Regions from separate parts of the Homo sapiens genome. Here all the other regions are linked to region 3. Evidence: promoter capture Hi-C in 16 types of primary human blood cells and fetal thymus (Javierre and others, 2016). All regions are on one chromosome and are shown on one strand. The core of a region is centred on a gene start or on the middle of the fragment in contact, and the rest is flanking DNA. Distances in the headings are between cores, read along the strand shown. Region 1 has its middle 6.5 kb from the start of NDUFA5. Region 2 has its middle 5.5 kb from the start of WASL-DT. Region 3 holds the start of ING3 (inhibitor of growth family member 3). Region 4 overlaps LSM8 (LSM8 homolog, U6 small nuclear RNA associated). Region 5 overlaps LOC105375470 (a long non-coding RNA gene). Region 6 overlaps NDUFA5 (NADH:ubiquinone oxidoreductase subunit A5).

Region 1 (4,984 bases), core at 1,953-4,452, 2.6 Mb after region 3:
AGGATTACAAGCGTGGCCACCGCACCTGGCCCATGAATCACCAAATCTTTTTAATAGCATCTAGTGTGGTCAGTTCTTTCAAGAAGGTTTTCAATTTATGTTACCCAGATCTGTCAGAGGAATCGGTATTTATGGTAACTATAGCCTTATAAAATGTATTTTTTTAAATAAGACTTGAAAGTGGACATTACTCCTTGACTCGTGGACTGCAGAATGATGACTGCAGCATGTTGTGCGTGAAAACAATGTTAATCTCTTTGTACATCTTCATCCTCAGGGCTCTTGAGTGACCAGGTACATTTTCAATGAGCAGTAATATTTTGAAAGAAATCTTCTTTTTTCTTAGCCCAGACTTTGTTGTTCCATTTATAGAACACAGGCAGACTAGATTTAGCATCATTCTTCAGGGTCCTAGGATTTTCAGGATGGTAAGTGAGCATGGGCTTCAACAGCTGCATAAGCCTGTAACAAGAGAGTTAGCCTGTCTTTTGAAGCTTTGAAGCCAGGTGTTGACTTGTCCTCTCTAGCTTTGAAAGTCTTAGATAGCATCTTTTTCCCATAGAAGGCTGTTTCATCTACATTTTTAAAAATCTATTGTTTCCTGTGGTTATCTCCATCAGTGATCTTAGCTAGATCTTCTGGATCTTGCTGCAGCTTCTACATCAGCACTTGCTGCTTCACCTTGCACTTTTATGTTACGAAAATGGCTTCTTTCCTTAAACCTCATGAACCAATTTCTAACAGCTTCAGAGTTTTCTTCTGCAGCTTTTTTTACCTCTCTTAGGCTTCATAGTGCTGAAGAGAGTCAGGGCCTTGCTCTGGATTAGGTTTTGGCTTAAGGGAATGTTGTGGATGGCCTGGTCTATCCAGGTCACTAAAACTTTCTCCATATCAGCAATAAGGCTGTTTTTCTTTTTCTTTTCTTTCTTTCTTTCTTTTTTTTTTTTTTTTGAGTCAGAGTTTTCTCTCTGTTGCCCAGGCTGGAGTGCAGCAGCACGATCTCGCCTCACTGCAACCTTTGCCTCCCTGGTTCAAGCATTTCTCCTGCCTCAGCCTCCTGAGTAACTAGGATTACAGGCAGGCACACCACTCCCAGCTAATTTTTTTTTGTATTTTTAGTAGAGACAGGGTTTCACCATGTTGGTCAGGCTGGCCTAGAACTCCTGACCTCAGGTGATCCGCCCACCTCGGTCTCTGAATGTGCTGGGGTTACAGGTGTGAGCCACCGCGCCTGGCCTGTTTTGCCTTTTTATCATTCGTGTGTTAACAGAGTAGCACTTTTAATTTTCTTCAAGAACTTTTTCTTTGTATTCACAGCTTGGCTAACTGGTGCAAGAGGCCTACTTTTTGGCCCATCTTAGCTTTCAACATGCCTCCCTCACTAAGCTTAATCGTTTCTAACTTTTGTTTTAAAGTGAGAGATTTGTGACTCTTCCTTTCACATGAACACTTAAAGGCCATTGCAGCATTATTAACTGGCCTAATTTCAACATTGTTGTATCTCAGGGAATAGGAAGGCTAGAGCAGAAGGAGAGAGATGGGGAACAGCCAGTCGGTGGAGCAACCAGAACACAAATAACATTTAAGTTTGTTGTCTTATATGGGTGTGGTTTGTTGAACTCTAAGACACTTAATAACACTAACATCAAAGATCAGTAATTACAGATCACCATAATAGATAAGGAAGAAGTTTGAAATATTTCAAGAGTTACCAAAACGTGACACAGAAGCATGAAGTGAGTACATGCTGTTGGAAAAAATGGTGCTAATAGACTTGCTTGATACATAGTTGCCACAAACTTTAAATTTGCAAAATATCTGCGAAGTAAAACAATATAGCAAAGCACAATAACATAAAGTGTGCCTTTTATACATATACGTGGCTGTTATCACAGTATCCTAGAGCCAGTAGACCTACAGGAGGCTAAATGATGAGGGTCACAGAGCCACAGGCAGTTCTCTAAGGGTTCTAAACAGGAAGCACCAGGATTGAGATTTATGTTTAGATGCCACATCATGGGCAGTGTGAAGAAGGAGTCTGCATGTGGCAGGACTGTGAGCAGTATGACCCAATACAAACATCTATGAAAAAATGAAATAAAATCTATCAAAAAAAAGGTTGGTGAATTTGACTACATTAATATTCTATACTTCTGAATAACAAGAGACACAACTTAAATTGTAAAACAACACAGACGGGAAGAAGATATCTGCAACCCATATAGCCACCAAAAAATAGGCGATGCCTAGAATATGTAAGGAACTTTTGTAAATCAATAAAACAACAACAAGAAAAGAACACCCAAAACAGGTCTCCCTACTTTGACTTTTGCCTCCCTCTCTGGAGTACATTAAATGAGTTATTATATGTATATGCCTCACCCAGTATGTGTAATATGGCACCACCTACTTGACTTCTATTAATTTATTAGTTTACTTTTTTTATTCTCAACCCAGTAGCTAGAATAATTCTTTTAAAAAGTACTTTGCTCAAAATTCTCCCATGATTTTTTTCACTCAAGCTGTAAAAGTCAAAGTTCTTACACCTTGCAATCCACAAGGCCCTGCCCCACTTCTCAGACCTAACCTCCTGTATTAGTCAGGGTTCCCCAGAGAAAGAGAACCAGTGGGATATTTAATATTTCATTTTAATTTCATGCACACACACATATACACATATGAAATAGCCATATATATAGGAGATATATATAAAATACCCCTATATATAGGATATTTTTATATATCCTATTGTGTGTGTGTGTATATACACATACACACATACACACACATATACAGATGATCTCCAAGTTACAATGTTTTGACTTACGATTTTTTGATGTTAAGATAGGTTTATTGGGACGTAACACCATAAGTCAAGAAACATCTGGACTTAACGATTGTTTGCCTTATGATTTCTTAACTTTATGATAGTTCATTGGAGTATTAAATGGATTTTTGACTTATGATATTTTCAATTTTATGATGGGTTTATTGGTATATAGCCCCTTTGTAAGTTGAGAAGCATCTGGACACACACACACACACACACACACACACATATATATACACATACACACACAAGTACATATAAACATACACACACACATACATGTAGAGAGATTTATTATAGAAATTGGCTTATGCAATTACGGAAGTTGAAAAGTCCCACAATCTGCTGTCTGCAAGCTGATGAACTAGGAAAGCTGGTGTTGTGATTCAGTCCAAGCCCAAAAGCCTGAAAACCCACAGAGCCAATGGTATCAATCCTGGTCCCAGTCCAAGAGTAAGAGCACTGATAATCAAAGGCAGAAGAATATAGATGTCTCAGCTCAAACAGGGAGAGTGAATTCACCTTTCTTCTGTCTCTTTGTTCAAGCCTTCAAGGGATTGGATGATGGCCACCTTATTGGTGAGGGTAATCTTCTTTGCCTTATTCTATAAATTCAAATGCTAATCTTTTCTCTAAGCATCCTCAGACGTAACAGACGCACCCAGAAATGTTTTACCAGCTATCTGGCTATTTAGCTTATAATACACACACACACACACACACACACACACACACATCCACACACGAATTTAGGGAGAAACAATTTGCTTTAGGGTTCCCCAGATAACATATGTTTTTATATACCATATTTGTTCTGTTTCTCTGGGGAACCATAATACAAATTGTTTCCCCCAAAATTTATATGTTGAAGTCCTAATCCCCATTACCTCAAAATGTGACCTTCAGGCCGGGTGCGGTGGCTCACGCCTGTAATCCCAGCACTTTGGGAAGCCGAGGCAGATGGATAACTTGAGGTCACGAGTTCAAGACCAGCCCGGCCAACATGGTGAAACCCCACCTCTACTAAAAATACAAAAGTTAGCCGGGCGCAGTGGCTCACGCCTTGTAATCCCAGCACTTTGGGAGGCCAAGGCGGGTGGATTTCCTGAGGTCAGGAGTTTGAGACCAGTCTGGCCACCATGGTAAAACCCCGTCTTTACTAAAAATACAAAAAAATTAGCCAGGCGTGGTGGCACGCACCTGTAGTCCCAGCTACTCAGGAGGCTGAGACAGGGGAATTGCTTGAACCAGGGAGGTGGAGGTTGCAGTGAGCCGAGATCATGCCACTGCACTCCAGCCTGGGTGACAGAGTGAGACTCCGTCTAAAAAAAAAAAAAAGAAAAAAAAAGTGACCTTCATTGGAAATAGGGTCATTGCAGATGTAATCAAGTTAAGATGAGGTCATTAGAGTGAGACCTTATCCAGTGTCAATGATGTCCTTATTAAAAGTGGAAATTTGGACATAGAAACACACACTGTTCAGTACCACTAGCAAAGATGAAGGCAGAGATCAGAGTGATGCATCTACAAGCCAAGGACCACCAAAGATTGCCCCCAAACCACCAGAAGTTAGGGAAGAGGCATAGAACAGATTGTTTCTCTCAGCCCTCAGAAGGAACTAACACTGTCAATACCTCTATATTGGACCTCTAGCCTCCAGAATTGTGAGATAATAAATTTCTGTTGGTTAAGCCACTCAATTTGTGGCACTTTTGTTATAGCAACCCTAGAAAACTAATACCCTGAGAAATAGATTAGTTTAATAATATGCTCCCCTCTTCCTTAGGATAGCTGCCCCTAGAAACATGAACCATGGAAATACAGCCTTTCCAGTTCAGATTGCTGAAAAATAGGCCTTTACCAAATTACCATCATAATTTTTAATTTCTAGTATTTATATCATCCACAATTATAATTTAGGACAGAAGAAATATTTATTAACAAACATATATGTACTAATGACATTTTAAAGATACATGTGCATGTATATATATACATTTTCATAAATATAAAGAAACTATTACATTGGAATTAATCACCTATATATCCATTTGCTCCTCTGTGAAGGGACCTATGTATTTGGATACCCTAAGTCACTCTTTTCTGGAAACCACATTTGGATTTGGCCGAAATGACCTTATTTTTCAAACGAGG
Region 2 (5,025 bases), core at 784-3,283, 2.8 Mb after region 3:
AGACTAGGGGTTTTATCTTAATATACATATAAAATGCATATGCTAGAAATACCAGCTTTCAGAGCTTGTAGACCACCAACCTATTTTGAAGACAGGAAAGAGTAGTGGGAGAGGGCTGTGAAAAAAAGCTTTATTACGGTGTATATGAATATAACAAAAAAAAGGCAATTCTTACATTTAATTTCTTCCATTTGACTCTCCTTACCTCAACTAGCATCTATTCTAGTACTTCATTTTCTTCTTTCTTTGGTATGATCTTTTAAGGTAAAGCCCTCATTTTAACAGAAAACATTAGGGTAGCTTATTATGGAAATGAGAGCATATTTTCAGATACATTCCTGCTGTTATCCTTATGGGTACTTTGCAAGCTTCTCTTGTTACGGTTCTTTGTTATATATTTTTCTTCTTTACAAATGTCATTGTTTATGTACTGTTAAAAGTCCTCTGAAACACCCTATTCCCCTTGCTAATGTTAATAATTTAAAATGTAGTGACACCCTTTACTGTGGGGGAATATAAAGGTGGCTGAAAGCACACGGCATTCAGCAGCCATTGTAGCCATAATTGCTGCTTGGCTATGGCAGAACTGATTTTATAGAGACAGAACAACAGCAAATCTGAATACTGCAAATCTGGATTTGCAGAAAAAGTGCAGGGGCAATGAGTGCTACTTCTCCCATGCAACCTCCAGAAATGTCATGTGTCTAAAATGTTCGTCTTGTAAAATATCTGCACATTTTTATGTAAATGTTGCATATGGCAATGCTTACAAGAATTTATTCTAGTACATGTTATCCCAAGTTAAATGTTAATTGTTTTCTTTTTCATCAACTAAATTCTGAAAAGTAAGCTAGCACACCATTTTTTTTCTGCCTCTCCTTTTTAAATTCATTTTAACTACAAACCTCTTTGGGGCTTTCTTTTTTAGGAATAAATAGTTTATTTACAAATCATTCTGATTTCTTATTGAAGTTAGTGGAAAATTGAACACTTATTCATGCTACAAAATTACCAGTGATAGTTACTACCATTATATGTCCTAGTCTCCAAATACCTAGTACTTACCTGTAATCAAGAAATGATTTGAAGAGCTAAGTATGTTATAGTTCCCAGGATGCTGCTTATGGTTTTCTGGCTGCTCTTTAACTTTAATGAATATTCAATGGCTTATTATTATTCCAAATGAGAGAGAACAACATTGATTTCTTTATTGTAATGTTCTCAAGGTCAATCTACATTATAAATGAGTAGGCAGGCTGGATACTTGGGAAAATTTGAAGATGCCACATGTCCCCATTACCACATTGAAATTATTGGGGTCAAGGATATGGTCTCTGCTACCATGTAACATTTTTAAAATCAATTTTTATTTTTATACAAATGATAAATGCACATAATTTAAAAAATCAAATAGTAGTACAAAACTTAAAACAGCATAAAACAGAAGTTACATTCTTGGACCACTTTAACTTTGTTGGATTTTACCCCCCTCAATAATTTGCTTAAATTTTATTTCTTTTATTTCTTCTATATTAAGAACTATAAAGTCCTTCCTCATATTATTTTCCACATAATCAAGTGTATCAGGAATCTATTAGACTCACTAATTTTAATCAAAGACCTGTCTCCCAAAGCCATCCATCATCCCATATTAATCTGTACTGTTGCTACATGGCTATTGTCTGGAATTTTATTGAGTTACTATCCTGGGATTTCCCTTTATCTTTCTGTATTAGACCCTCTGTTTCTTGGAACCTATGTCATCCATCTTGATGTACTCCCTTGTTTTGATAGTGTATATCCTTTAGTGGCTTCCTAAGAAAAAGTGCATAGATAGTAAAATTTTGAGACCTTGCATAGCTGATAGTTTTATTCTAATCTCACTCTTGGTTGATTAGTTTAACAGGGTAGAAAATTTCAGGTTGAATACCAGTTTTCTTCAGTATTTGAAGGTGTTATTTTATTGATTTCGAACTTTCAACATTGCTGTTGAAATCTGAAGTTATTCTGATTCTGATCTTTTGTATATAAGTCTTTATGACCTCTAAAAGTTTTCAGAATTCTGTTTGTTTATGGAATTCTGAAAGTTGATGATGTACCATAGTGGAATACTTTTACATTTATTGTACTGGGTATTCCAAAGGCCCTTTTTATCCAAAAACTCATGTCTTTTAGTGCTGGAAATTTTTCTTTTGTTATTTTCATATTTTTCTTCCCCTTTTTTCTCTTTTCGCTTTCTGGAATGCCTGTTGGTCAAATGTCAGATTTTCTGACTCATTCTATACAATTAGAAAGCACACCCAAGTTTCACTGTGGAACTACTCCAGTGAGCCCTTCAGTGTGGTCATCTCTGGGCAGAGATACTATAGATTTACTGCTAACATTGGGAATTGGAAACTAGAATCTCTTCTGAGATTCTAAAAGCAGGGTGTTTCTGCTGCCATCCTTGCTGCCCTTTGCCACATGCTTCTTCACTTTATGTGTTTTCAAATCACAGTTGCCCATGGGTGTGTCTGATGAGGGAAAGGTCACATACCTGTACCCTAGCTGCAAAAGAGCTGGAGATTTCAGGCTCGTTGTTAAGGGTCTGCGGATTCATAAGGTCAGAAATTCCATGAACACAGAAAAAGTATTCAAAAGGTACTCAGCAGCTAGTGAATTCAACTGGGGACAGTTGGAACTTCAGGATGTTTGATGACTGGGGAGAGGGTCTTTGTTAAGAAAAAGCAATAATATGAAATATTAATGCTTTCCAATTTTATCAAGATGATAGCATTTTTGTGTACTGAATTACATGCATATTACATACATAATAAAATTGTAAAACTCTGTATCTAGGAAGTAAATAGTCTTTATTTATTTTTGCCTCCATACAAAGTCTTTAATAAGAACTGTGTTTTTCCCCCACATTAACTAGGTTACTTGTCCTTAGAAAGTTGGTAATGGTTGAATGGGTTAGTACTATATGTTCATACACGTTGATATCATTTATCTATAAATAGCTATTTAGCTGATTCATTAAAGCAAATTGAAGTAAGTCATTTTGATATAATAAATTGTCAAAGTCAGTGATATGCAGGCTTTTCATTTGTAAATTGTAATTACTTTTTAAATGTTTGTCTCCTACATTAGCCTCAAAGCTCTCTAAGAGCTGGTATCATGTCTTATTCATCTTTGTATCTTTTTAGTCTTAACATTGAACCTATACATTATTCAACGTATATTTGTAGATCAAATGACCACCTTTGATTCAAATAAAAACATATGAATTTTTATCAGGTACAAAGATAGTTACACAGGATCTGAGATCAAATAAAGAGAAACCACAGTCTTGCCCAAACTCTTCCACACAGTACTAAGCATGTGGTATTCTGAGAGCACCTGGAGAGAAAACACAATACATAAGAAACTGCACACAACCTAATGGTAGCAGGAGCAGGGCTTGTGACAACAGCAATAGAAAGGAATGACCTCCACTTGAGATGACCCAGCAACCTAATTCAAGTCCAGAGGATAAAGTGATTTTTTTTTTTTCCTCCTGAGTGAGCTCAGGTGTCCAGGGGCCTAGTCTGAGAAAAGAAATGTGTGTCATATTTTAGGGATTTGGGGGAATAATAGTTTTTAGCATGAAGTGATTGCAAAAACACTAAGTCAAGGCTTCACTTGGTCTTAGAAAGCAACTCTGGAAGCATATGGAAGCAAGCTTAGTATCCAGGAGCGTTGGAAACTAAAGTGAAAATAACCAGGACAAAAAATAGGCTGGCATCCCAATGGACTGGGGGAGACTGGCCAGCAGTTCTCATAGCAGCATTAGCATCACATGTTAGAAATGCACATTCTCAGGCCCCACTCTTGACCCACTGAACCTGAAACTCTGGGGATAGGACTCATCAGTCTATGTTTTAAGAAGCCCTCCTGGTGATTCCAATAAGTAGACCTTCAAGACGACCTCCAGGGGATGAAATTTACCACCCCCACCAGCCACCTTCCACCCTTTCCCAAGCATATAAGGCTTATGGCATTACACAAACTATGTTTGAATCATATTCTTTTGAGGGGACGGAACTTGTAATGAACCACTGGGATTTATTCTTGTCAGTTTAAGACCTAGATAGGATAGAGTCTGTAGGTGGAATGTCTTCATTGTTCACACCTGGCAAAATAGCTGTAAGGGCAAGCAGGTATTTATTAGCTATAGCTTTTCTGATCTGAGTTCCGATAGTAACTAGCCATGAAATCTTACTAAAATCACTCAACTTCATCATGCTTCTCTTTACTCATTTGTAAAATGAAAGGAATGACTTAATGATTGCTAAGGTCCTTCTCAGCTCAAAATTATATAATCAATCCCATGTATTTTGGATTTTAAAAAAATCCTGCATTTTAAAAAGCAATGGGTAAAAGGCAGTGCATAAGGGAATATAAACAATTTCATGGCTTTTTCACTATTACAAATCCTTTTTTGGTGGTATGAAAATGAATATATAAGCCTTATCATAAGCCTACTCTATTGAAAGAGGGATTGGTAAAGAATACAATCCCCAGAACATAAAAATCCTGCTTTTAGTTACCTCAGAGCAGGAAGGAAGGGTAATTGGTGACTGTGGTTTCATGGAATTATTGATCTAATATTTGCCATTTATATTCAAAACTGGATTGCATGGTACTTGATAGTTGTTACATCAGTCATGATTCTCAGTTCCCTGTGGCTGGAAGTTAGTAGTATTCATTGATTTTTTTGTTTTGTTTTTTAATAGAGAAGGAAACACATTGAACATGCAAACAACTTAGAGTCGATGGTCACATTAGAATAAGTTCCTCATTCCTAGTTTAGGGAGTCATTCCTCTCAATATCTTTACTTAGAATCAGTTTAAAAATTAAATTACATATTCGCTTTCTCACATTCAAATTTCCTTTTAGGAAGATAGAATATTGGCACTTTTCTTTCATCTTGATCCTCTTCATACTGAAGCTATTGTGTGTTTATTATATGTTCTGTTGGACTGGAGCTTTGAACTGATGAA
Region 3 (5,109 bases), core at 1,653-4,152:
CAGTCTCTGTGTCTTTTCATTCCCAATTTCAAATCATAAGAAAATGCATCTGATAGGTCCAGCTTTGGTGAATCCCTGATAAATTAATGAGTTTTGATACAGACATGGTCAATCCATATGAGGGGCACTCCCTGGAAATGCAGTATTGGTTTTAAGTAGGCAGCCACTCAAAAATGGTATCTACTGTATGACCTAATTATGTAAGAAGTTATCACAAGCCTATGCAAACATAATTGTTGCAGCTCAGCTGATACATGTTCCAACAATAAGAGTTACATTATTTAACTAAAATATACAGTGTGTAAGTTTTATTTTTGGTTTCTGTGGAGTGTGTATTTATACTGACTGAATTGGGAATGATTTATTATCTCATTTCCCTTAATATGGAACACTCCCTGAGGAAGCTCAGTTTACACTGAAATGATGTACTTCTATTCATGATAGCATACCATTTTAGCTACTCTGAAAGAGCCACCTGGCAAAAACAACTAAAAGTGCTAGATTTAAAAAAATACACTGATGAACTAGTAGGAAATTAAGGAATTTTCAGAACGAATATAAAAGGGGAAAAAGAAGGAAAATGAAAATATCCTGAGAAATAAGTGCAAGCCAAAGTAGGCTTTTGTTCAGAGACTATCTGTCAAGTTCTGGACACCTAGAGCTCTTACTTTAATAGCTGTGCAGCATGCCAGGGTCAGAAGATAAACCCAAGTATCAGTTTAAAAGGAAGAGTCTTACAGCAGACAAAAATCTGGGGCCCCAATGGACTATACTCTCCATGTAAGGGTAAATGACATATAAGCCTCATGCACAGAATAGGCCAGTAATGAAACATGTCTGTCTTGGCCTTGGAGCCCAGTAAAGAAAGAAAAAAAAATTCTCCTCTGAGAATCTGTAACAATCCATTTGGGATAGAGGCCCAAATTCAATCTATCTGTGCAATACAATAAACCTCAAGGGGACAATTTAATCTGGTCCTAGGGGTTTATGATGTCTCCAAACAAACTGACAAGCAAATTCTAATGCTCTCCATGAAAACTCAATTTCAACTCCAGCTCAAAGAATCCTTATGCTTGTAATCCCAGAAACAGGAATTCAGAGTCCAAAATCGCAACCCAACAGGAAAAAGCCACCATGAGTAAAAGTGCCCATTTCTGAAGAAATAGCACTAAAAGGCCCATAAATGTTTCAATATTAGGTTTAACAGAAACAAGATACAGACTAAATAATTTGTATAAGAAATTATAAGATGTCTTGAAAAGAGAACCGAATAGAACTTCCAAACCTGAAAAATTATGAAAATTCTAAAATAAAACATATAAAAGAAAGATTAAGATAAATAAGAGAATAAAGAGAGAAAGTCTTAATGGAAAAAATGAGAAATAAGCAATACTGAAAAGACAAACGCTGAGAATTTTCTAGAATTGTTGCAGGGCACCAATCCTGAAATTCAGGAATCCCCTCAAATCCTAAGCATAATTTTAAAATTTTAAGGAAAGAAAAGGGAATAAGGAAGGAATTCAGACTTAGATCACTACAAAACTGCAAAAAGATGTCAAAGAGATGTTAAAAGCAGCCAGAAGAAGGAAGGATGGGAAACGAAGAAAGGAGGAAAAAAAGAAGGGAGAAAAAGATCGAAAGTACTTGATTTTCGATGGAAGTAATGAAAAACTTAACTAGAAACTATAAAATTCTAATTCTTATTAGGATCGAAGTAAGGTTCCGTTGAGATTCATCATGATTCATCATTCACGACAGGAAAGTTTCCTGCTTAAGAGCAGTGAAAACCTTGAGTACAAGAGTATGTAATGGAGAAGGAAAGCAAGAAACACACACACACAGTTTCAACTGCAATTTGAAAAACAGAAAATGAACAATAAATTATGAACTAATGACAATTTCCCCAGAAAATCGAAAAGTTAAGAAGAGTGGAAAATAACAATATCTAGCATTTATTGAGTGCAAGAGTTTTTAATAAAAAACAATTTAAAAAGAAACTGAGTAGGGACGTACTAAATATATCACAGGAAAACATTTGCTGGGAGAGGTCGAAAAGTAGAAACTAAAGAACGCCGAAGACAACCAACCTCGAATATGGACTATTTACTCAACATAAAGTTACTGCTATTAACAGCCTATTAGAAATCAAGGCTGCATCCGTAATTCATGGCTGCTCACTGTGATGATGAAGATTATTATTATTATTATTTGCGGATGCAGATTGTATGTATAGATCAATTACATTAGAATGACGATTAGATGGACCGCAAACTAGAATATATAAGTGGCTACTGACACTATTTGTGCATCTTTTAATCTGGGAAATGTATATTCACTCCATAGTCTCAGTATAAACTATTTTAAAATTACACGTAAGCCAACCAGGTGTCTCTTTTATATTTTAGAGTGAATAATGAGGATAAATTCCAGTAGAGAGTTCTATTTTAAGCAATCCAAATTCCCCGAACTTTGCTGATTATTCTAGTGTTTAGAACCTTTGCTATTTGCCTGGCACTTCTTGAAACCCATAACTCACAAACGCCGGGGCATGGAATCACATCAAAGAACAGGTGAAAAGTTGTTCCTAGTTGTGTTATGCAGGTGCATACAACTCCCGCCATTCTCTGTGCAAAAATCAACAAATAAACAGAGGCACCGCATTTCGGATTCTGTTACGCACTGTTTGCAATGGCGCCCGGTATTCGTAGTTTCTGCGAGGGGAGCCGCCAGCGCGCCAACCCTCGCTGAGGAGGAAGAAAACTACATTTCCCACAGAGGCACGGGGGCGAACACCGGCCGGGCTACGTCATTGCTTGAACCAACCAATAGCAGCTCCGGGCGGCAGTGAGGCAAGCGCCTCAGGCGCCAAAGTGGTTTTTTTTTTTTTCTTTTTTTTTTTTTGCCGGAGTCGAGCGGGTGCTGCTAGCGGAGGCGCCATATTGGAGGGGACAAAACTCCGGCGACAGCGAGTGACACAAATAAACCCCTGGACCCCCTTGTTCCCTCAGCTCTAAGGGCCGCGATGTTGTACCTAGAAGACTATCTGGAAAGTGAGTGCGCGGCGCTGGCGGCGGCCGCCAGTGGGACGTGCGGGCGGGCAAGAGCGCGAGTGGACGGGCAGCGAGATGGCGGGAGGGAGGGGGCGGCGGGGGATGTTTCTTTCTCACGGTAACTGGCAGCCTCGTTGTGGGCTGCCGGCCCCCTCGACCCCCCTGACGCACGCGCGCAGTGACGTAAGCGCGTATTTCGCCGTTGGCCCCGCCCCTCTGACGGACTCTCCCTTTGACAGTGATTGAGCAGCTTCCTATGGATCTGCGGGACCGCTTCACGGAAATGCGCGAGATGGACCTGCAGGTGCAGAGTAAGTCGGCGCGTCTACTACTCCTGTTCGCTGCGCGCGTTCAGTGCCAGACTTGCTTGTCATCACTGCTAGCGCCTAGTGCTCTTTCACTGTCCTCTGGCTCACTCCGCTAGTGCATAAGGAGTTGTCAAAAAGAACTGGCAGCCCTGAATCTCGCCTTCCCCTTCCCTCCCATGCTACTTTTTTCTGGCTTTTGCAAGAGCAGGAGGCATTGGGACACGTGTATTCCTTTCTAGAATGTGGGATTGTGCAAAAAATATTTCTCTACCGTCATTGACATAGTTATCTATGTTTCAATGGACGTCAGCATAATAAATGTTGAGATGTCGTCTTGAGCCTTTTCGTATCGAACTTAGATTTCAGCATTTATACTTATTTTAAAGTTCATCCTATTCACAGTTTTTCAAGAGTGGAAAGCACAGAAGCAGAGGTTATATATAGCTCTTTAGAGACCATGGCAAATGTCAAATTTTGAAAACTTAGTTACACATTAGATACATTTTAAATTGTAACAGAATCGTCATTTTCTTGGTTAAAATGAGTGACAGAAATTAGATTTCACTGTAAAGTTTCTTATGTGCTGTACTAAAAATTTTAGCAGTTAATGAACATTTCTTTTTCTTTCAGTGATAGCTTGGTAGTCTCTAGGACTTTTTCCCCAAATTAACTTTGCTCTTTCATAGAGCAACGACTATAAATAGGTGGCTCAGGGACCACCTGCTGCAGCTAAGAACCTGTCCTTTTCACTGCTCCTGGCTTCTCTGCCCATGACCACACACCCACTTCTATACCCTTTGCTTATGAGTATATTTTTCCGGTAAGTTTCAGGTGGCACATAATAAAAAGTGGTGGCATGGAAGCCACTTTCTGTTCAGTGGATTGTGATATGAAGTATGAATTGTGTGTGTGGTTCTCCAGCTATCTCACAAATTCATTTTAATTTTAGTGTAGTTGAAATGCTGAAGATTTGCTGAAGTAGTGTTCTCTGCAGGACTGAGCACAGACATTGATGTCAGATCTGAGTTTGTTTTAGGGCTTTACTAATTTACTCATTGACTCTGACTGTATTATCACTTGTGAGGGGCTTACATTGTCTATAAAAAGAGAATCATCCAAGGATTTAAAATGTTACACATGGATTAGAATTTCTAGTATCTGATACAAAGTAGGCATTAAATAAAGGGTAACTTACTTTAAATTATTTTTATATTTTATTGTTTAAAATTTTAAATTCTCTTGTAATTTGGGCTTACATTATACATATTACAGGCTTTTTAAACGTGCATTTCTTTACAGTAACTAGAATTTTCTAAAGTTAATAGGTATTATGGATTAACAGAACTGTGTGCCAAATAAATTCAGAAATGCTTATTTAAACAAAGGAACATACTTCTAAAAAATTAACCATAGGACTTCATAGAGTCTTTAAAAGGCTATTGTGGACTGGAAATCTCCAAAAGAAGTATATTATGAAAAGATTTTTCTCAACTTACATAACAACAGAATCTTTTTTATTAATTTTTCCTTTTTTTTTTTAGCAGACATCCAATGAGATGATTAGTCTTGGCATATAATTTGGGGAAAACTTACCTAGAATTAATGTTTAAATGATTGTACCTACTACTTTCAGTTGGGATATGACATGATGAGATGTTTAATGCCATATACCAAATATTTTTATCACTTTTTCTTGTTAAAAGAAATGTGAGGATTATCTAATGGTGTTTTAATTGTGTTTCGGTACATTT
Region 4 (4,852 bases), core at 2,206-4,705, 2.8 Mb before region 3:
TCAGCCTTATAAGGGGAGAAGCACTATTCTCTAGAATTATTTGGTTGATGTTAAGGGCTGTCTCTGGGAGAATTAGAGAAGTTAGCTAGTATTGGCTATTCATAAGTACTTGACTTGTAGTATAATGTTTTATAATCAATTTATTAATAAAATGATGGAAAGTGGGTAAGGCAAACAGGCAAATTTAGGGACTGTGAATGAAATATTGTAGTATATGGCATTTTGAATTGGTAAAGTAATTCCAAAAATTAAATAAGAATACACATTGTTCAGTTGCTAAGAAAAATGCATTCTAACAGTACAAATGAAGTCCAGAGTCAGATCTTTTCTCAAAATACTTGGCATATCAACACATTACACATAAACAAATAAAAACCAGTCCTGTCCCTCATGATAATGGGTTTCTAATGTGATGTATTCTTGCAATCTGAAACACCTTATAAAGCTGTATTTTCCTGATTGATGTTGGAAAAAGCATTCCCAAAATGTGAATTATTGTTTTTATGAATAGTTACAGAGGATGTGATGACAATATGCCAGATAATCTATGTAATTCTTTATTCCTGGATACAAGCACATGGTGGACTGTTTTCTCACAACCGATTAAAATTGGATTTATTTTTGCATGAGAATTGTAAGGGAGCCACAACCATGAGTAGTAACATAATTAATATACAGTGTCAATATTTTATATTTAATGAGACATTTATTCTATAATCAGTTCTTATTTATAAAGAGGCGCAAATCAATTTCAACCTGTAATTACCTCTGTGCTTTGTGACTCAGGCACAATCTAAACCCAGCTTAATGAATCAAAGAGATGTTTCTTGGCAAGATATTTTCATTAAAGTTATTTGGAAAGGGCAATTAACTGCAAAAGGGACTTTTTTTTTTTTAACTGACAAGATACTATCTAAACTAATAGTTTAAAATAACATTGCTTTTATGTCAAAGCACTTTGGTAACTTGGCCTCACATGCTGACAGTTTTGGCTAAATATTACAAATCTTGATCCCAGAAGAGCAAGAGAGAAAGTTTTACTAATATTTGCTTAAACATCCTGTTTAACAACTTTATAACATCCTTCGGAATTTTTAAGGTAATAATGTGAGATATAAGTATGATAAAAACAACTTTTAAATGGTATTTAATGCAAATACAGAATAACGATGTCAACATTTTCCTCAGCCGTGTAACCTGAGATTCATCATGGGAATGAGAAAGTAAAGGCCCTTTGTAATGGCATGTGAACCAGACAATTTAGTAGCCAGGGTTGTAAGGCAACTCTTAACTGACAATATAGTTAGTATATTCTGGGCCTTCATCTTCAAAATTAGTAGGTAGTATTTATTGAGTGCATATCATGTGCCAGGCCTGGTGCTGAGTGCTTACAATGATCATTTTATATATGGGAAAATTGAGGCTCAGCAGGGTCAAGTGACTTGTAAGAGGTAGCACTAGTAAGTAACAGTGCTCAAATTCAACTAGGTCTTTCAGCTTTTTATACAATACTGCCTGTTATCAGAAAGTATAGTCTTAAAATCTGCTATCAAGCATCTATCAGAAGCCTGATGAGAAATATTCAGATGATCTAACGCAGTTCCCAAACCTGCATTGTGGGCCGTTTTCATTACAATTACCTAAGGTGCTTTAAAAATTTTCTTGGGCCCTACTCGTTGTGGTTCAGCAGCTGTGTAATGGAGCAAAAAGGAATAGTCACTAAACAGCGAAGGAAAGTGGTGGAATTATTAAAAGACCTAGCACTTACCTGCTGGGATGAGTCTCTAACCCCACAGAATTGATTTCAAACACAGGATCTTATTCAAGATAAGGATAATAACAGCTATCTTCTTGGGTTGTAAAAAGTAGCATTAGACTGCATTTTAAACATTTGGTATGATTTTGAGGACATAACCGTAAACAGCTATTTAATACTATTCCAGGTAGTCAAAGGCCAATGTATAAAAGTTAAAAATATAGGTCTTGTCAGCTTTTTAAGCGTCTGTCCCACTGACTACCATATCTCTACAAGAGAATAGATGAGGAATTGAGGTTATGTGGGAAGTACGTGTAAGTTTACAGTATTAAGAAATGTACAATAAAATTTGTTTCTATGTCAGCGAATATTCTTGACTCAAGGAGTTTGAAAGTGTAAACTCAAAGGTCTTTCACATGTAAAGAGGAACCTCTCCATTCTGTACTTGTATAGTCATTACCTCATATAGATTTAATTTTATTAAATTAAATTTTACTTATTTTGGGTTTAAAAAAACTTGGGCTGTGAATCTCAGTTTTAAGTCATGGGCAAATTTGATAAAAATTCCTTTCTGTCTACATGTAATACTGAAAAAAATGTTGATAAGGTAAAGCTATCTCCATTTAGATTGATACCCATTAAATAGCATAGTGCTCCCATTAAACTAGCGACAAATTCATTTAATTGTGAGATATCTAGTACTTATGCTCCATCCTGTTTATAGGGATTATTGATGTGAGATTTGGTCAGATGCTTTGATGTGATCTTCATTCCTCTGTATAGTGGGAAACCATGAGACGTGCTTAGTCTTCATAAATCGATGCTGCCTCCTAGTGGCCATTGCTTTCTTTTCTACCTGTCCACAAACTTCAAAAAAATAGATTTTGGAATTTTGTCAGGGACACTTATCAAGCCATTAATACATGCCAGGCAGTATGCTCAAAGCTGTGGATAGGCCAGGGAACAGTATTCTTGTGCTTGTGAAGCTTCTATCTGTCTGTATCTACCTCAACCAAATCATCTTGACTCAGATTTACTGTCGAAGGTCGTGTTATTTCATCAGATTCTTTCAGTATTCTGGGATATAATTTATGGGTTCTGGATTCATTCAAAACAACTAGAAACAGTCTTTTTAAAATAAATATAATTCAAGTCAATTATTTTCCCCATCTATTTTTTTTCTTTTAAGATTGCTAAGTCTGTAGGTTGCATAATTCTAAGGATAAAGGCGAAATAGGACTTCACCAGGAGAATTTCTTTCATTAGTTAACAGTATGCCATCTCCTACTTACTGGCATCATCTGGGGAATGAAGGAGCTGAGAATTGTTCTTCCAGATACCTTTCCGACCTCTTCTTGGTTTTGGCATTAAGTTTTTTTTTAACTCAATTTTTGTGTTAGTTTTTTGTTATGCCTTTTCATTTCCTTCTTTTTTTAATGTTTCTTTTTTTTTAAGTCCTTTAATTTTTATTTATTTATTTATTTATTTATTTATTTATTTATTTATTTATTTTTGAGACACTTCTTGCTCTTTCGCCAGGCTGGAGTGCAGTGGTGCAATCTTGGCTCACTACAACCTCCGCATCCTGGGTTCAAGCGATTCCCCTGCCTTAGCCTCCCGAGTAGCTGGGACTACAGGCACGCGCCACCACACCTGGCTAATTTTTTTGTTTTAGTAGAGACGGGGTTTCACCATGTTGGCCAGGATGGTCTTGATCTCCTGACCTCGTGATCTGCCCACTTCGGCGTCCCAAAGTGCTGGAATTACAGGCATGAACCACCACGCCCAGCCTAAGTCCTTTTATTTTACAGAGTATTACTTGTTAGAAATGGCACAGATCAAGCATTGCTACAACTGGTATCAAATTCCCATCAATGTCCCTACAAGGATATGATACGCTTTCTCTCTTCTCTTTAGGGTAATGTTCAATTACACTGCATATATTTTGCTATTATGTAGGTTTTTTTTTTTTTTCCACATATACTGGCTTTACAAATGCCATATAATTAGTATGGTACCAAATTGTTATTACATTTGAAATACGTTAAAAAGAATCCAGGAGTCAGGGTGGGTGGGGAGACAACTCCAGGGACACAATACATTGTGTCTTGTATTAAAAACTAGTGTGTGTTGGGGTGGGGAACAGGCAGGAAACTAATATGTTTCTGTTTGATATATGAAAATATGCACAAGCTATCATGTTTCATCTCATATCAACAAAATGATTATAATAAATCATACTCTAGAAAACTCATTAACTGATACAAGTTGCCAGAAAATGCTGCACTATGGCTTATTTCACATTTTAAAATAAATGCCCTGAAAGTGATCACAATGATAGTTAAAAGTTAAATTTTTTATTTTAAAATTTAAATTTTTATTTTAAAAAATAGCTCTCTGAATCTGACTTGGATAAGCTTTATTTTAATTGTGATTCTGCTAATTACAGAGACACTTCAATTCACACTCATAGGAGGTATGATTTTTAAAAGGAAATTGTTGATTAGGGTCTTGGGCTAGTCCAGTGTAGCATGGCAGTGAAAGGCACAGACTCTGGAGTCATACTTAGTTTGCAGAGCTTAGCATATTAATCTTACCATGTCTTAGTTGCTATGAAAATGAGTACCTGCTTCCTTGTACTGTCAAGATTAAGATAAGCAGTTAGCACTCCCTAGAACATACTAATTTGTCAATATTAATGATAGCTAACAATTATCCTGATATTGAATGATGGACTCCAAATTATTTATTGTGGCCTAGGAAAAGTACTAAGAAGTAATTGATAGCATTCCCTGATAATTTTGGTGAAAAGAAAAACTATGAAAATTCTGGACAGGACTGGAAATTTATTGTAAATGAAAGTATGCTTCCCTGGTGCAAAGGTAATGTGATGTTTTTAATCACATATTTTAAAATTAAAAATTTGATCAAATTTTTAAAAGTAACACGAGGCAGAGAAAGTACAGAAAGGAGCAACCAGAGTCAAAGTGATTAAGTTATAAAAAGGTTAGATTTCTTTGGTGTGAAAAGATAAATGAGAAATGAGAATATGCCAGAGATCTGAAATGAAGAATGGATAAGAGCTTGCATATTTAA
Region 5 (4,492 bases), core at 1,879-4,378, 2.8 Mb before region 3:
ATTTTGACAAGTTGGTGATTTTCAATTTAGTTTCTGGTGCATATGTTAAAATGCAGATCATTATTTTTGATCATGCCACATGCATGAAAAATTCCATTATGTGAGTAATTATCACATGGGGTAAAGACTTGGAAAAGTTCCTGCATATTCTTTTTGTTGTTATTTTTCATTTCTTTTCCTGCATATTCTTGACAGAAATTCTAAAAACAATAGGTAGTAGGGTAGGTAGGGAGGAAACAATACAGACTTTCTCTGAAGTCCTCTGAGGTTTTGTTATGTCTGTTTATTCTCAGTGCAAGAGGTCAAGTTCAGAAAAATGGAAGAATCATATCTCAAAGCTAGTCAAAAATGGGCATTATGAGAATACATGAGGCCGGTCAGAATGATGAATTGGTAATATAAAAGCTCTGGAAATCTCATTTGTTGACATTAGAAAACAGCGGTCTGCAAACTTTCTGTAAAGAGCCCGATAATAAATATTTTAGGTCTTGTGGGCGTCTGTTGCAATTACTCAACTCTGCTGTTGTAGCCTCAAAGCAGCCATAGATGATATACAAATTAATGATTGTGGTTGTGTGCCAATAACATTTACTAACAGAATGATTTCCCCAAGGTTTGTAGTTTGCCAACCCCTGTTAGAGAAAATAGTAATGATACAGATACTTAATATTGAAGAAATGGAAAAAATGCCACAGAGGCAGAAAAGTGTTGAATCTGTCTCTTCCTCTTTGTAAAGAGTTAGGCCCAGGAATCTGAGGAAACAGTCACAACTACTCAAATCTGAATAACCTTAAGTGATCCTCTGTCTATATATGTTGGTTATTTCTTGACACTACTGTGAATTTTTCCTGGGCAACAATCTCAATGGCAGTGCAGCACATTGGAGCTTGACTGTCTAGGTTTAAAGACTGGCTCTGTTAATTACCAACAAAATGAGTTCGGGCAAGAAACAAAACCTAGAGAAAAAAAGAGCAGAAACCACTGGAGTAACAGAGGTGTGGAACACAGTAGGTACTTGACGAAGATGACTTAAGATTTATGTAAAGACTGAACATGTACCACTACTTGTCATGACAGTGGAGCATCCACTTTATAAGAATGACAGTATAATGAGAAAAACACACAAATATATTAAATAATACTTTGAAGAAACTCACCTTTTACTTAATGTCACCACAGAGGAAATTCTGGGTAGAAGTTTAGAATTTACAAAGACTTTGTGCCACAGAAAAAGATGGCCATGAGCAATAGTACTTAAGTTGCTTAGAATGAATAAAAAATGTTCAAAACCTCCTATGTACAGTATAGACACTTTACTTTTATCCAGGAAGACAATAAATTAAGAGGTTGCATATCTGTATCACTTTGTATTCCTTCCATAACAAATCGCCACAAACTTAGTGGCTTAAAACAACAAAACTTTATTAACTTACAGTTCTGTAAGTCTGATATGGGTCTGACTGGACTTAAATCAAGGTGTTAGTAGAATGTATGCCTCCAGAAGGAGGCTGTAGGGAAGAATCCATTTCCTGCTCACTTAGATTTTGGCAGAATTCAGTTTCTTGCTGTTGTAGGACCAAGGTCCCTGTTTTCTTGCTGGCTATAAACTAAGAGCTGTTCTCAGCTTCTAAAGATAACCACATTTCTTGGCTCATGGCCCTCTTCCTCCAACTTCAAAGCCCATCAACAGCAGGACAAGTCTTTTCATGTCACATCTCTCAGACCCACTCTTCTGATTCCCTCTTCCGCATTTAAGGACTCATGATTAGAGGGGGCCAGCTGAGTAATCCAGAATAACCTCACCATCTCGAGGTCCTTACCTTCAATCACATTTGAAAAGTGCTGTTTGACATGTAAAGTAACAATCACAGTTCCCAGGGATTAGGATGTGGACATCTTTGGGGGTTGGGGGGGTAGGAGAGATTATTCTACCTTCCACAATATCTTAGTTGCCTTTCCTATTCTTCCCATTGGTAGTGACATCTGAAAAATGTCAACCTGCCTTTGAGTATTTGGACTCAAAGGTATACATATTCCTTCTGATTTCCGAAAAAGTCTACATACAATAGCAATGACGTATCCATGGATATGCGCTGATCATATGTACATATAAACTCAAAATTTTGTCCTTCAAGTAGAACAGTTACTTTTATTATTAACTATTGTAAGAAGCACTGAACTAGAATCCAGGAGGCCTTGATTGTAGGTTCTACTATGTAACCCTAAAAGAGTCAATGAACTTATTTGGGATTCAGTTTCCTAATCCACATGACACAGAATGTAAATTTGAAAATTCTTAGGTTCCCTTTTAGCTCTAAATATCTGTGATCCATAGTCTGAAAGAAAAAGGGTGGAAGTGGGAGAGTCATTCTGATTTGTTACAAAAATGAAACAAAACTTATATAATGAGAATTTATCAAAAATAAGGGAAAGCCTTGATTTTTTTCTGCCCCATATGTTTTTAATTTAAAATTTTTTTTTAATATTTAGGGGGTACAAGTGCAGCTTTCTTACATGCATATATGAAATCTGGGCTTTTAGTGCACCCATCACCTGAGTAGTGAGCATTGTACCCAATAAGTAATTTTCAACCCTTATTTGCTCCCCATGTGTTTTAATGTAATTTCAGGCATTTGCTTTCTATTGGTCACTCAAGGTTATTTATGTTTAGCTTTTGTCAATGTAATTCTTATACTTCACTCTCACTATTCCATTTACATTTCTATATACCTTCTTACATTATTCATCTCTCATTGCCTAACCTCAGTATTTTTCTCCAAAAAAAAAAAATCAATAAATTAGCATTGCTCTACCTTGCCATACAATGTCTGCAACAAGTCCAAATCAATCTGTTCCTTCTGTGTGGATTATAACATTAAGGAATGAATTCAGACTGAAGATCCTAGTGACCTAAGTAATTTCTGATATCAATATTATTTTCCAATTTTGGCATGCAAAAAATTCAATGGAAATGACAGTATAATTTTACCTGTATTGCAATCCAAGCTGCTAAAGACAATTTTTAAAAGCCAAGCAAAACAATAAAAAAGAAAGCAAATGTACTCAGCTTAAAATAAAGTTCCCTAATCTGGTTCACTATAGTGATAACACATACATGGTAATTTATTTTTTAAAAAAAGATATTGAAAAATGATCAGGTATGGGTGCTCCATTTGGATTAGTCATATGCTGTATGTGCTATTTAAATAAAGCTGCCCAAGTTATACGAATTCAAGTACCCTTCTAGGGCAAAGTCAGAGGTGGAAGAACTGCCTACCTAAAGAATTACTTGGTGCTAAAGGACAGTATGAACCACAGAAGGAGATAAGTAAAACAGGGGCAGGATGACATTATTTAAACTCCAGATTCTCAGTGGAATACTAACATAGTCTGTTATGTTACAGTATTGTCTTTTTTATTTTTTATTTTTGAGACAGGGTCTAGCTCTATCACCCAGGCTGGAGTGCAGTGAGAAGATCTTGGCTTACTGCAATCTTTGCCTCCTGGTCTCAAGGAATCCTCCCACTTCAGCCTCCTGAGTAGCTGGGACTACAGGTGCGCATCATCACGCCTGGCTAATTTTTTGTAGTGACAGGATTTCACCACATTGCCCAGGCTGGTCTGGAACTCCTGAGCTCAAGTAATCTGCCTGCCTTGGCCTTCCAAAGTGCTGGGGTTAAAGGCATGAGCCACTACACCCAGCCGAGTACTGTTTTTTATAGTACACATGAGGTCACATGAGATTGTTAAACAGGAGAGTAATGTTAGAATAATAGGGAAAGTGGGTTGGTTCATACATAATTTTTCATAGCACTTTAATGCTTTGTAGTACAAAGACACAATAGCTGAAGTACAATTATTGCACTTAGTTTTGTGATTGAACCAGGCCTGGGGGAGTATAGCACTCAAATGATGACCTTTCACGGTGTGGGACCCCATTCTTCCCTGGGCTTGGTTCAGCCATATGCTCCATTTTGATAGTGCTTATTTTGCAGCTCCCTCACATCTTTGGGCAAAAGCGACATCAGACAACGAGTCAGAGCCATCCATCTCTGGCAACTCCACATTTCCTGCAAAGTTTGCAACTGCTTCTCCATCTGCTACTTCTGATGATCTCCCGCCCTTGTTTCCATCACTCATCAGTGTCTACCCTTCTGTAAACTGTCATTCTTTAAGCAACCTTCAACTTTTTTAAAAAGGTAAAACTCTTTAAGTTAATATAACATTGCTTTATTTGTTAGGAGTTTTACACGTCCTTCTAAATGAACTACTATTTTCATTTCGGTTGTTATTGTCTGTTAATACTACAGTTCAGTGGTTGCCAGACTTTGTTGTTTATTAGTTAACTACGGATGTTTTAGAATACTGAGGCCCAGCTGAACCTCATTCTATTTAACTCAGAATGTCTTGAGTGTGGGAGCCAGCTATCAGTTTTTAAAGATCATATCAGTAAGTAGCAAAGTTTGGGAACCACCGCTCAGTTGTTCAGAGT
Region 6 (5,076 bases), core at 106-2,605, 2.6 Mb after region 3:
GTGTCCTTATAAGAGAGAGGCAGAGGGATATTACACACAGAAAAGGAAAAGGTAATGTAACCACAAAGGCAGAAATTGCAGTGATGAGACCACAAGCCAATAAATGCCAAAAGCCACCAGAAGCTGAAAGAGGCAAGAACAGATTCTACCCAATATCCTCCAAAGGAAGCACAGCCCTGACAACACCATCTTGATTTGGGTCCCTGATGTTGATTTCCAACTTCTGGCCTCCAGAAGTCTAATAAAATAAACTTACATTGTTTTAAGCCACCAAGTTTGTGGGAATATTACAGCAGCCATACGAAATTAATACATAGTGTAACATCCCCTATCCCCACCATGGCACACATTTTCCTTGTTTTATTTTCCTTCACTGCACTTACTATTTTCTAACACACTATGTACGTCTTTACTCAGTTTTTACTTTTTTTTTTTCTTTTGGTCTCCCATCACTAACATGTAATCTCCAAGAAGGAAAGGATTTTTATCTGTTTTGTGCCAACTAGGCACAAGTTTCCATGCCTAGAACCATACATGGCATTCAATAAATGTTTCTTGGTTAAAGAAGTGAATACATAAAAAACAGCTGAAAGGGGGAGAAAAGGGGAAAAAGTAATAAGCATGTTTAAGACAGATTATTTAACAGGGAATTAACTCATATGAGAGACCAAAAATCAAAAACAAAACAGGGAAGCTGGTCACTGTTATAAGAGACTCAGGAGAGTGAAGGTAAAGAAGGCAAGGAAAGTTCAACGACACTTTCATTTCAGAAAAAGCCTGTGTTAGGTGAACAGTTCAAAATTTGTCTTACCGATAGTGAATAATGTGATTTTTAGTCACCAATGGCATAATGCTATTAAACTTGATAAGGTACCATGTACTGAATGCTCACTATATACTTGGGACTATGTTAAGCTTTTACGTGCATTACCTCATTCGGTTCTAACAAAAAGTGTTCGAGGTGGGTATTATTATACCCACGTTATAGATGATGAAATTGAGACCGAGAAAACTAGCAATATGCCAAGTCACTCCACAAATAAGTATTAGAACTAAGATGAAAATCTTGGACAGGGACACAAACAACGCTTTTCACCAAAATAGTACTATCTCCCTAGTAATAATCTGAAAAAAAAAGTTACTTTTATTTCCACCTTAGGCTTAGTAAATAGATATTTTATAATAATGGCAATATTCACTAAAGATTTTGTGTGTGGCTGTATGCAGGGTTAAAAATCTGTGATAATTTTACCAAAAACAGGAATCAGAGATACAACTGTTAAGTGTTTGGGGTTATATCTAGCCTTTGGGATAAAGACACATTTCTAAGGAACCTTATGTTCCAGGTACCATGCTAGAGTCTAAGGATACAAAGTTGAATCCAATATCATTAACAAGTAGCTTATGGCTGGTGGAGACATAATACAGCATGAAGGTACAATGGAAAGGAGGTAACAAAGTTGTCAAACTCTACTTAAGAAAGTAAGAAAAGGTTTCACAGAAGAAGTGATGATTTATGAAGAAAAAGTAAGAACTACCAAACAACGTAAAGGCATTCCAGGAAATGAGAAAATACAAATGAACACAAAAATAAAAATGCAAGGAATCCACAGAACTGCCAGCAGTTTGGTACTGCTTAAGTATAGAGTATAAAACAGGAAGCAACAGGATCAGATTGAGAAAATAACCAAGAGCCAGAACTTAGAAGGCCTTCTATACCATGTTTTTACCCTGTTAGGCCAGTGGTTCCCAAACATGGCCACACATCAAAATCATGCAGATAAAGGTAGCTAAGCAAGCTTCATACAACCAGCTCAACATAAATCCTTAAACTCAGCCTTTGAGAAACACTGAACAGAAAACCACAGTAAGATTTTAAGCAAGACAGCACAGTTGGCCCTCAGGATCTGCATCTGTGGATTCAACTAAGAATGGATTCAACCAACCACAGATGGAAAATATTCAAAAAAACACAATAAAAATAACAATACAGCAATTTTTAAAATACAGTATAACTACTTACACAGCATTACATTGTAGTATTATAAGTAACCTAGAGATGATTTAAAGTATACAAGAGGATGTGCATAGGTTATATGCAAATACTATGCCATTTTATATAAGGGACTTGAGCATCCTTGTATTTTGGCATCCATGGGAATCCTGGAACCAATCCCTCATGGATACCAAGGGACAACTGTACCATCACAAGATTTACATATTGAAAAAAAAATCAGTCTATTATTGGCTGTATGGTGGAGCATGTAATGAAGTATAATGGAAGTACAAACAGATCAATTAGTTATAAGGCAGTTTAAATAGCAGAGAAAAGGATTTTGGAACCAGTAAGTAAAGAAGTATGAGAGTAAACTCTTCTTTGGTTGAAACTGGCTATGGGAGAAAACAAAAATAGGACAATAAGTAAAGGAAAATACAAGCATACAGTTTTTTTTATTTTTAAGATAGGAACAAGCTAAAAACATTTGAGGCTATTTGAAAGATGATGATAAAATAGGTGAGGCACCGGGTGCAGGTAGCTCATGCCTGTGATCCCAGCACTTTGGAAGGCTAAGGCAGGAAGGTCACTTGAAGCCAGGAGCTTGAGATCAGCTAGGGCAACACAGTGAAACTCCGCCTCTACAAAAAATTTTAAAAATTAGCTGGGCATGATGGTGAGTGCCTGTGGTCTCAGCTACTTGGGAGGCTGAGGTAGGAGGATTGCTTGAGACTGGCAGGTCAAGGCTGCAGTGAGCTGTGATCGTGCCACTGCACTCTAGACTGGGTAACAGAGTGAGACCCATCATATAATACAATACAAAATACGATATAATACAAACTGCATTGTTTTGTTGCATACCTAACGAAAGATAGGAATTCTCTTTGAACTATATAGTCTGGTAATCTAATAAGAAGAAATATATGTGACTAGGATCACTTATGCATGTATATAAATTACCTTCAGAGTTTCTAAGCACTATTTTAGATAATTACATAAAGTCCATTTAATGATTGCTAGTGTGAAAATTTAACAATAGTACAATATAGTTTGGTATGAATCAGCAGTCTAGACTTTTATTAACTGCTACTTAATAACAGTCTAGTCTTTTTGACAGGTTTCTTTGAAAAAAAAATGCCCTTTTTTGTTTTGCTTTTATTGTTCTCTAAGATTAGAAAAAGGAGATCAAGATTGATATATCCAAGATAAAAAGCAAAAGATCAATAAAGGACTAAATAGTGAAGAGAGGTAAAAGGAACAGCTACAATGTTACTTCAAGGAAGGATCTGATCCTAGTCTCAAACTCCAGTATGTAACAGAGGCCTGCATATAGAAAACACTCAATAAACAAGAGTTTGCTGAATAAAAGGGAGGAATGATGGGAAAAGAGCATTCAAGGAAGGAGAATAGAAGAAAAGTGTGTCGAATATATAAAAAATAAGGAACTAAACTTTTTTGGTTAAATGTTACACAAGACAACAAAACTGACTTAGCTACTTACCGCTTTAACCATAGCCAGCTTCTCATTTGTAATCTGTTCTGTATACTTTCTATATGCTGCATTTTTAGGGATTTCCTCAAGAACATCAAGAATCTTTGTGTACAATATTCTTAGCCTCTGAAAAGACAAACCATACAAATTTCCATAGGTTAAAATATTACCAAAGACTTAATGGAACACTTGTCTCAAAGACAAAACAAACAAAACTCACATCTGTTTTTTTTTTTTGCTTTTTTTTTTTAATTTAACTCTTCTTTGCTCTGACTTCTTTATGTCTGTGCCCTATCTACACCCTTTATAACTTAGGAAAAACCTGTATATAAACATGGGAACATTCTGTATTTTCTGTGTATAACAAGTTCTAGATAAGTCAAAGGTATGATAACAAGTAGAAACAAAACTAACTTATTGCTAAGGACCTTTTGGGAAATCGAATCATTTACCAAATCAGTATTTTTCTTTCTTTCTTTCTTTTGAGACGAAGTTTCACTTGTTGCCCAGGCTGGAGTACAATGGCATGATCTTGGCTCATTGCAACCTCCACCTCCCAGGTTCAAGCGATTCTCCTGCCTCTGCCTCCACAGTAGCTAGGATTACAGGTGGCCGCCACCACGCCTGGCTAATTTTTGGTAGAGACGGGGTTTTGCCATGTTGGCCAGACTGGTCAGAAACAAAACAACTTATTGCTAATGACCTTTTTGGAAATCAAGTCATTTACTAAATCAGTATTTTTCTTTCTTTCTTTTTTTTTTTTTTGAAACGGAGTTTCGCTCTTATAGCCCAGGCTGGAGTACAATGGCGTGAACTTGGCTCACTACAACCTCCACCTCCTGGGGTCAAGTGATTCTCCTGCCTCAGCCTCCCAAGTAGCTGGGATTACAGGTACCCGCCACCATACCTGGCTATTTTTTCTATTTTTAGTAGAGACAGGGTTTTGCCATGTTGGCCAGGATGGTCTCAAACTCCTGACTTCAGGTGATCCGCCCACCTCAGCCTCCCAAAGTGCTGGGATTACAGGCGTGAGCCCACCCAGCCTGAATCAGTATTTTTCAAAGTGAGGTCCGAAGCACTGCAAATTTTTTTTTTTAATTTTTCTTATTTGAATTTCTGTAGAAATAAACACATATAATCATTACATCTGTATGATCAAATTTAACTAAATACGGTCATAATACTTCAGTGTTCTTGCTTCTGATTATGAATGAGTTACGACATAAAGTCTGCATAAAAGGCTCAACCGAAAAAGTAGCAAGAGAATTGAGTCAATGCATAGCATGTACTGAAGCACACTGAACTTAAACTTCAGTATAGAAATCAGTAAGAAGTTGATCCTCTCCAATTTAAATATATAATGCATATATTAGTTTTTAATATAGCATTTTAATTAAGTTTTAATATGATCTAAAATTCAGGTTTTAAATTTTCATCTTTCCTGACAAAAATGTATCAGTGTCTAGAGAAATACAGATGAGAACAGGGGACTATTAATATAGAATAAAAGAAAAAATGTTATCAATAGGGTGGACACTTAGTTTATCATCCAAACTTGGACACTTATAACAGTGAAAAGATACCTATT

Evidence for each region. Contacts are between HindIII fragments. The CHiCAGO score rates a contact against its expected background, and 5 or more counts as called.
Region 1: a fragment that was not itself captured here is called in contact with the fragment with the promoter of ING3 in region 3 in 2 of 17 cell types (neutrophils and non-activated CD4 T cells); the score reaches 7.8 in neutrophils.
Region 2: a fragment that was not itself captured here is called in contact with the fragment with the promoter of ING3 in region 3 in 1 of 17 cell types (total CD4 T cells); the score reaches 5.6 in total CD4 T cells.
Region 4: a fragment that was not itself captured here is called in contact with the fragment with the promoter of ING3 in region 3 in 2 of 17 cell types (naive CD8 T cells and neutrophils); the score reaches 6.4 in naive CD8 T cells.
Region 5: a contact is called between a fragment that was not itself captured here and the fragment with the promoter of ING3 in region 3, in 2 of 17 cell types (non-activated CD4 T cells and total CD8 T cells). The highest score is 6.6, in non-activated CD4 T cells.
Region 6: a fragment that was not itself captured here is called in contact with the fragment with the promoter of ING3 in region 3 in 2 of 17 cell types (non-activated CD4 T cells and total CD4 T cells); the score reaches 8.6 in non-activated CD4 T cells.

Annotation. Positions count from the first base shown.
Region 1 is chr7:123,561,864-123,566,847 of GRCh38, forward strand. It overlaps a transcript of NDUFA5 not described here. Among named protein-coding and RNA genes, the nearest start is that of NDUFA5, 6.5 kb to the left of the region's middle. The HindIII fragment of the contact is 3,637 bases long and covers 1,385-4,984 here.
Region 2 is chr7:123,752,175-123,757,199 of GRCh38, forward strand. No RefSeq gene overlaps it. Among named protein-coding and RNA genes, the nearest start is that of WASL-DT, 5.5 kb to the left of the region's middle. The HindIII fragment of the contact is 3,335 bases long and covers 367-3,701 here.
Region 3 is chr7:120,947,875-120,952,983 of GRCh38, forward strand. It overlaps ING3 (inhibitor of growth family member 3), which reads left to right and starts at 2,903. Exons shown (of 12, transcript NM_019071.3): 1 at 2,903-3,050; 2 at 3,290-3,361. The coding sequence starts at 3,023. RefSeq lists an enhancer at 3,446-3,525. The HindIII fragment of the contact is 9,487 bases long and covers 1-5,109 here.
Region 4 is chr7:118,193,480-118,198,331 of GRCh38, forward strand. LSM8 (LSM8 homolog, U6 small nuclear RNA associated) reads left to right here. Exons shown (of 4, transcript NM_016200.5): 4 at 1-4,852. Among named protein-coding and RNA genes, the nearest start is that of LSM8, 12 kb to the left of the region's middle. RefSeq lists an enhancer at 2,549-2,608. The HindIII fragment of the contact is 1,431 bases long and covers 2,741-4,171 here.
Region 5 is chr7:118,174,260-118,178,751 of GRCh38, forward strand. All of the region lies in intron 1 of LOC105375470 (a long non-coding RNA gene), which reads right to left. Among named protein-coding and RNA genes, the nearest start is that of LSM8, 7.7 kb to the right of the region's middle. The HindIII fragment of the contact is 7,095 bases long and covers 1-4,492 here.
Region 6 is chr7:123,546,973-123,552,048 of GRCh38, forward strand. NDUFA5 (NADH:ubiquinone oxidoreductase subunit A5) reads right to left here. Exons shown (of 5, transcript NM_005000.5): 3 at 3,498-3,614. Among named protein-coding and RNA genes, the nearest start is that of NDUFA5, 8.3 kb to the right of the region's middle. The HindIII fragment of the contact is 884 bases long and covers 914-1,797 here.